Linked DNA regions of Homo sapiens: region 2 is linked to region 1. The links are contacts of gene promoters, found by promoter capture Hi-C in human tissues and cell types (Jung and others, 2019). All regions are on one chromosome and are shown on one strand. The core of a region is centred on a gene start or on the middle of the fragment in contact, and the rest is flanking DNA. Distances in the headings are between cores, read along the strand shown.

What was found. The method cuts DNA at HindIII sites, captures the fragments that hold promoters and counts their contacts. A contact is called where the count stands out against the background at its distance.
Region 2: a fragment that was not itself captured here is called in contact with the fragment with the promoter of ODF4 in region 1 in 1 of the 25 tissues and cell types used here (lymphoblastoid cells).

Annotation. Positions count from the first base shown.
Region 1 is chr17:8,337,996-8,341,458 of GRCh38, reverse strand. It overlaps ODF4 (outer dense fiber of sperm tails 4), which reads right to left and starts at 1,619. Exons shown (of 3, transcript NM_153007.5): 1 at 954-1,619. The coding sequence starts at 1,407. LOC124903916 (a long non-coding RNA gene) reads right to left here and starts at 3,402. Exons shown (of 2, transcript XR_007065607.1): 1 at 3,168-3,402; 2 at 2,701-3,036. The HindIII fragment of the contact is 12,554 bases long and covers 1-3,463 here.
Region 2 is chr17:8,103,792-8,107,254 of GRCh38, reverse strand. It overlaps ALOXE3 (arachidonate epidermal lipoxygenase 3), which reads left to right. Exons shown (of 16, transcript NM_021628.3): 14 at 3,040-3,140. Among named protein-coding and RNA genes, the nearest start is that of ALOXE3, 13 kb to the left of the region's middle. The HindIII fragment of the contact is 5,977 bases long and covers 1-3,463 here.

The DNA of each region.
Region 1 (3,463 bases), core at 370-2,869:
GCAAGAATTCAGGGAAAGAAGGAACACAGAAGCCAGATGTGGAAAAAGGAAAATGATCCAGAAAAGCAAGGCCTGAGGCAGAAGGAAAGGAGAATGTGTGGGATCAGGGCCTGAGAGGGGACATTGCAAGGAGTCCTCTCAAAGCTCTGGGTACACAAGACTAAGGAAACCCCCATCTCACTGGGGCTCTTGTCCCTGGTAAATTAGGCGATTAATGAATGATTCTCTTGTGCTGAGTCCATGCCCCTCGTAACTTTTTTTTTTTTTTGAGACAGAGTTTTACTCTTGTTGCCCAGGCTGGAGTGCAATGGTGCGGTCTCGGCTCACCGCAACCTCCACCTCCCGGGTTCAAGCAATTCTCCTGCCTCAGTCTCCAGAGTAGCTGGGATTACGGGCATGTGCCACCACGCCTGGCTAATTTTTTGTATTTTTAGTAGAGACGGGGTTTCACTATGTTAGCCAGGATGGTCTCGATCTCCCAACCTTAGGTGATCTGCCTGCTTTGGCCTCCCAAAGTGCTGGGATTACAGGTGTGAGACGCAGTGCCCAGCCTGATTTTTTTTTTTTTTTTTTTGAGACAGGAGTCTCACTAAATTGCCCAGGCTGGACTCAAATTCTTGGGCCCAAGCAATCCTCCCACCTCAGCCTCCTGGATAGCTGAGACTACAGGTGTGCAGCACCATGCCCAACTCTCTCACAGCATTCTTAGAAGCACAGATTTGGCTCTGGGTTTTATCAAAAGCAGTGACATTTTCCATTGCACCAATCAAATCTATTTAGCCAGGCTACAGGATGAGAAACGATCATCGGAGGTCTCAGTGCCAGTGGAACCATCTTGCAGGCCAAAAAGTAAAGATGACCAGAAAGAGGGAACAAGAATACATCCAGGGTGCAGATACAGAGGCCAAGACAGGCTGGCGGCCTGGGCTGGGATGGGGGGTGGAGGGGCTCACCTTTCCCATTCTCTAAGTCAGAACAGCTCCTGGATTTGTAAAAGTGCAGGAGCCCCATGGACATAACGTGGGCTGATGTGTGGATTCTGTTGCTGACATCCACGGGCCAGCGCTGGTAGAAGAGGCTCCTAGAGAGGTCCAGCCATTTCTTGGAGAAGGCCACGACCAATAGTAGGATAAAGGCAACCAGGCTGAGCTCAGAGGCCAACACCTGGGCCATCCAGCGGAAGCTGTGTGTGATTCTCCATTGAAAGGGCAGCGGAGAGTTCTGGCGCTGGCCCAAGGACCTGTTACTACTGAGGGAGAGGGTGGAGGACAGCAGTCTCCCATCTTGTCCCAGCTCACCTGTGCCCCATCCTGCCTCCCCACTCTTCCTTTCCTTTCCAGGTCTCTGATGTTGGTCTCTTTCTCCTTCTGACCTGGGGAACTCATTCCCAGAGTACTCTGCATCCATCTTGAGCACCACTTCACCCTCTGTCTCCCCTTTCCCTCACCAGACTCAATTGTCTCTTCTCATCTTTTGGATATTTTCATCAGCTGCCACCATGCAGCCTGAGGTCTGAGAAAGAATGAGGAAGTCTAATAACAGACCTCGATCAAATAAGAGACTCTTGATCCAAGAGAAGGCCCCAACCCATTCAGCAGGCCAGGTCCCCTAACTGCCACGGAATTTTCCTGGGGCACAGTGAGATGGGGGAGGGAAGCCAAGTCTTCAGCAATTTTTTTTTTTTTTTTTTTTTTTTTTAGAGAGAGAGACAGGGTCTCCCTCTATTGCCCAGGCTGGGATGCAGTGGCACAACCTTGGCTCACTGCAACCTTGAACTCCTGGGTTCAAGTGATCCTCCCACCTCAGCCTCCTGAGTAGCTGGGATTACAGGATTGTGCCAGCATGCCTGGCTAATTTTTCAATTGTTTGTAGAGATGGGGTCTTGATATGTTACCCAGCCTGGTCTCAAACTCCTGGCCTCTGCCAGGCACGGTGGCTCACGCCTGTAATCACTGCACTTTGGGAGGCCGAGGTGGGTGGATCACCTGAGGTCGGGAGTTCGAGACCATCTTGACCAACATGGAGAAACCCCATCTCTACTAAAAATACAAAATTAGCTGGGCGTGGTAGCACATGCCTGTAGTCCCAGCTACTCAGGAGGCTGAGGCAGGAGAATTGCTTGAACCTGGGAGGCGGAGGTTGCGGTGAGCCGAGATCGCACCATTGCACTCCAGCCTGGGCAACAAGAGTGAAACTCAGCCTCAAAAAAAAAAAAAAAAAACTCCTGGCCTCATGAGATCCTCCCCACTTGGCCTCCCAAAGCACTGGGATTACAGGTGTGAGCCACCTTGCCTGGCCTGTGGCTCCAGCTCTAACTCTTTCCGGAAATCCTGTTTCTCAGGCCACAGCTCAGAACTGTGGATCTGACACCTCCCTCCAGCTTCTGCCTCCCTTTACATATGAGCAATGGTATGTGAGAGGCCCTCCTGTGGTCTGCATATGGTTAATTTGTCTTCACCAAACCTCATGCTGAAATTTGCTCCCCAGTGTGGTGGTGATGGGAGGTGAGAGGGCCTAGTGGGTGGTGTTTGGGTCATGGGGGCAGATGCCTTGTGATTGGATTAACGCCTTCCCTGAGACCTCACTCCATTAGCTCCCCGCAATAGCTGGTTGTTAAAAAGAACCTGGCGCTGTTACCAAGCAAAAGTGCTCGCTGCCAGATGTGCATAGAAGCCAATACTCCAATACTAGGGCACTAGGTTTTGAGAAAAGGAAAGCTTTATTGTGAGCTGACCCACGAGGATACGGGAATCCAGCTCAAATCTGTCTCTCTTTGCTGGTCTTAAGGCAGTACTTTTATTAGAAAAGGTTTAGGGGGAGGATTCTGGGATTAGCGGGTGATTGGTGGAAAGAAAGGAGAAGTCTAGAAAGTCCTTAATCATGTCTGGTTATCTCCAAGGTTCTTCGTGGGTTGCATGTGCAAATTTGGTGGCGTTAGTATGAAACAGCAGGTGGAAATTCAGGCTGTGACATCAGCAAGCTCGTTCTGTGCGGATTGCTGTCAGCCATACGGGTTCCCACTGATTTCAGCCAGTCCTGTTATAAGCAAAGGGATTTTTCAGCATTTCAGCAAGCTGTTTCTTAGCTGCCATCCTGTAAACTCGAAAATGTCTGTTAATCACTGGTTTATTTAACTGTTTGGGGCACAGTTTCAGCTCCTCCCTTACCTTGTGATCTCTGCACAAGCCAGCTCCCCCTTGCCTCCACCATAAGTGAAAGCAGCCTGACGTCCTCAACAGATGCCCAATCTTGAGCTTTCTGGCCATCAGAATTGTGAGCCAAATAGCCCTTTTTTCTTTATAAATTATTCACCCTCAGGTATTCTGTTATAGCAACACAAAATGGACTAGGACAGTCCCCTTTTCTCTTCCTAGTTCCTCTGCCCTAACCCCAACCCCAAATGCTCACTGATGGAGCAGGGGGAGGGAGCAGGAGCTTATCCCCAGGAAAAGATCCTCCCTCC
Region 2 (3,463 bases), core at 568-3,067, 230 kb after region 1:
GTGAGCCACCGCACCCGGCCTTGGAGTTTTTAAAGGGTGACCCTTCCCTGTGTTTTGCAAACCTGCTATTAATCATGATCAGTGCTGATCCTGACAGCTCCTCCCTCCTTGGGCAGTTGTTTCATATTTGGGGTGTCTGTTTCCTACTTAAGACCCAAAGGGGGATCTAATTACTGTTAATTCAACTCTCCTATCTTACTTTATTTCATTTTTCTCTGATTTAATGCATCAGAACACTCTTCAGATTGACAACAGCTCTTCCAACAAGTATAAACCTATTGTAGATTCATATACAGCATTTAAAAAGGGAAAACACACTTATTAACCTCAGTCAGTCTGAGGTTAATTCAACTCTCCTATCTTACTTTATTACATTTTTTTCTCTGAGTTAGTGCATCAGAACATTCTGCAGATTGACAACAGCTCTTTCAATGAGTACAAACCTATTATAGAGTCACATACAGTATTTAAAAAGGGAAAACACACAAGTTAACCTCCACCTCCCGGTTCAAGCGATTCTCCTGTCTCAGCCTCCCGAGTAGCTGGGACTACAGTCGCACACTACCACGCCCGGATAATTTTTGTATTTTTAGTAGAGATGGGGTTTCTTTCACCATTTCGGTCAGGTTCCATATTCCAATGGGGGAAAAATAGGCAATATGAACTACGGAAAAGTTCCTATAGATGGTCTGTCCACTTCTTTGTTTTTATTTTTTGTTTTTGCTCATGTTTTGTTTTTTTGAGACAGGGTCTTGCTCTGTTGCTTAGGCTGGTCTCAAACTCCTGGGCTCTATTGATTCTCCTGTCTCAGCCTTCCAAGTAGCTGACACTACAGGTGTGTCTGCCTGCTTTACTTTTTTGTTCTCAGCCTCCGAGTTTAGAGACTCAACCAGGAACAGAACCTTCAGAAAACTCCCACACACTCCCAGGCGGATGTCTGGTCTTGCCTCCCAACCTCTCTGTTCTGTTGCATCAGCCTCCGTCCAGTCAGCCTGACTCCAAACCTTAGTTCTCTTTGACTCATGTTTCCCTCTCTGTCTTCCTAAATCCAGTTAGGTGGCTGATCCCTACTGTCACCACCCTAGTTGTAGTCTTCCTCATAGTGCTCTGGAATTGTGGCAGCTGCTTCTCAACCAGTCCCACCTCTCCCAGCCTCTCGCTGCTTGCCCGCCAAGCCTGCAGGGCCACCACCCTGCTAATCCTCTGAAATACTGCCCAGAAACCACATGGCCCTGCATGCCTCTGCAGCCTCACCTCCAATTAGGTCCCCTCCCTGTTCCCTCACCCTGTTAATACCCCGTGCCTTCCTACTCTGGCTTTTTTTTTTTTTTTTTTTTTTTGAGGCGGGGTCTCACTTTGATGCTCAGACTGGAGTGCAGTGGTGTGATCACAGCTCACTGCAGCCTTGACCTCCCAGGCTCAAGTGATCCTCATGCCTCAGCCTCCCTGGTAGCTGGGACTACAGGCATGCACCACCACATCACTGCATCCAGTTACCTTTTTAAAAAATGTTTTTTAGAGACAAGGTCTTGCTATGTTGCCCAGGCTGGTCTCAAACTCCTGGGCTTGAGCAATCCTCCCACCTCTGCCTCCCATGCTCTGGCTTCTTACCCTCTCATGCATTCCTTCATTCAACCAATAATTACCGGGCTCTTGGTATTTATTAAGTATTGTTCTAGGTGCTGAGGTTTAGTAGTGAAAAAGACAAAAATTCTGGCCTTAGTTGAGCTTAACATTCTTTTGGAGAGAGAAAGAGAGAATCAACAAACACATGTCAGGTGGTTATGAATGCTAAGAGGAAAACTGAAACAGCATCAGGGGATACAGTGTGTCAAGGTAAAGAGATCATTTCAGGGAGGTGGCCAGGGCAGGCCTCTCAGGAGCTGATGCATTAGTAGCTGAAGGAAGGAGAGGTGCTAGTTCTGAAGATAATTGGGGCAAGAGTAGCAGGCAGAGGTATAGTAAGTGTGCAGGCCCTGAATTCTGAATGTGCTGGTGCATTTGAGAACTATCAGGAAGGCCTGCACAGCTGGAGTCGAATAAGTGAACAGCCAGGAAGGAAATGAAGTGGGAGAAGGGGCTGGGGCCCAATCAAGTAGGGCCATGACAAGGTGAGTGAGATGGGAAGCCCTCCGAGGGTTTTAGCGAGGGGTGACGTAATCTGACGGGCATTTGTCCTTGCCAGTGTGCAGTGTGAGGTGGTGTAGATGCTTAGGTGGGGACGTCAGGTAAGCTGCCTCCAGGGTAATGCCCACGGCTGAGTCTGGAGCTCAGACGCCAGGCACAGCCAGAGAAGGGAATTTGGGAGTTGTTGGCAAGTGGGAGGTGGTTAGAGCCATGGACTTGGATGAGATGAGTGAGGCACAGCATGAATGGACCAAGGGCTGAGCCTTGGAGCTCTCCCCTCTCCAATCCTGAAATGCTTTTCTCTGTTGTCTTTTTTCCATTGGAGGCTCATCCATCTTTCAACTCACAAGGCCCCTCTTGTCCTCCAGGAGGCCTCCACTAACCACTCTGCTCCTGGTGCCCCTTTCTGCCCTGCTTGCCCTCTCCTCAAAGAGCCAAGCTCTGGTCTTAGAAGCTTCCTTCTGCTTCTGTTACTGTGAGCTTTTCAGTAACACGCCCTCTGCGTGGGTCTCTGCTGCTAAGCCCAGCAGAGGATGGTTGGATACTGGGTGCTTGAACAAATCTTGGTGAACCGGGTAGGATTAAATCATTACATCCTAATAGGGGCTGCAGATTGAAGTGCCTTGGAAGTCAGGGAGAGGCAGCTGGGCACTTGGGCTTGAAGCTGCCTCTGTCATTGGCCCTGCCTGCCGGGGATTTTCTGGCCAGATCCCAGCCCCCATCTCCTATCCTGACCCACTTCAGAGACCACAAATCTTGGTGGTGGCCATCCCTAACCAGCCCGACAAGACAGTCATGGCTCGGTGTTCCCTACTTCCTCACTTTCCCCCTGTGGTGAGCCCCAGTCCTGAGCTGGCCCTAGGAATCCAGTACCTTCCATCCACACCCTCTACCCTTCCTCCCCACACCCAGGTTTCCCAAGCCGGCTGTGCACCCCAGGAGAGATGGTGAAGTTCCTCACTGCAATCATCTTCAATTGCTCTGCCCAGCACGCTGCTGTCAACAGTGGGCAGGTGAGGCTACAAAGGGCAGGCCTGGGGACATCAGGTCTCAGCAATGGACTTGAGGCCTGAATTTGGGTTGAGAGCTTGGGTGGGTCAGCGTTGGGGTGGGTTTATGATTAGACTTGGGGTTGGAGTGGCAGCTGAGTGGGGTGAAGGGTTGGCATTGGGTGATGACTGGGTGGAGCTGGGTCCAAGGTTGTAATGGTGATTCAAGTTGATGTTAATTTGGGAGAAGAACTTAGGGGCTCCTCTCATGGTTAGAACCCAGCCAGGTGGAGTAGCAGCTTGCTCTGTGTGGCATGGCAACCCAAGGCCCTTTTCTAGGATTACCT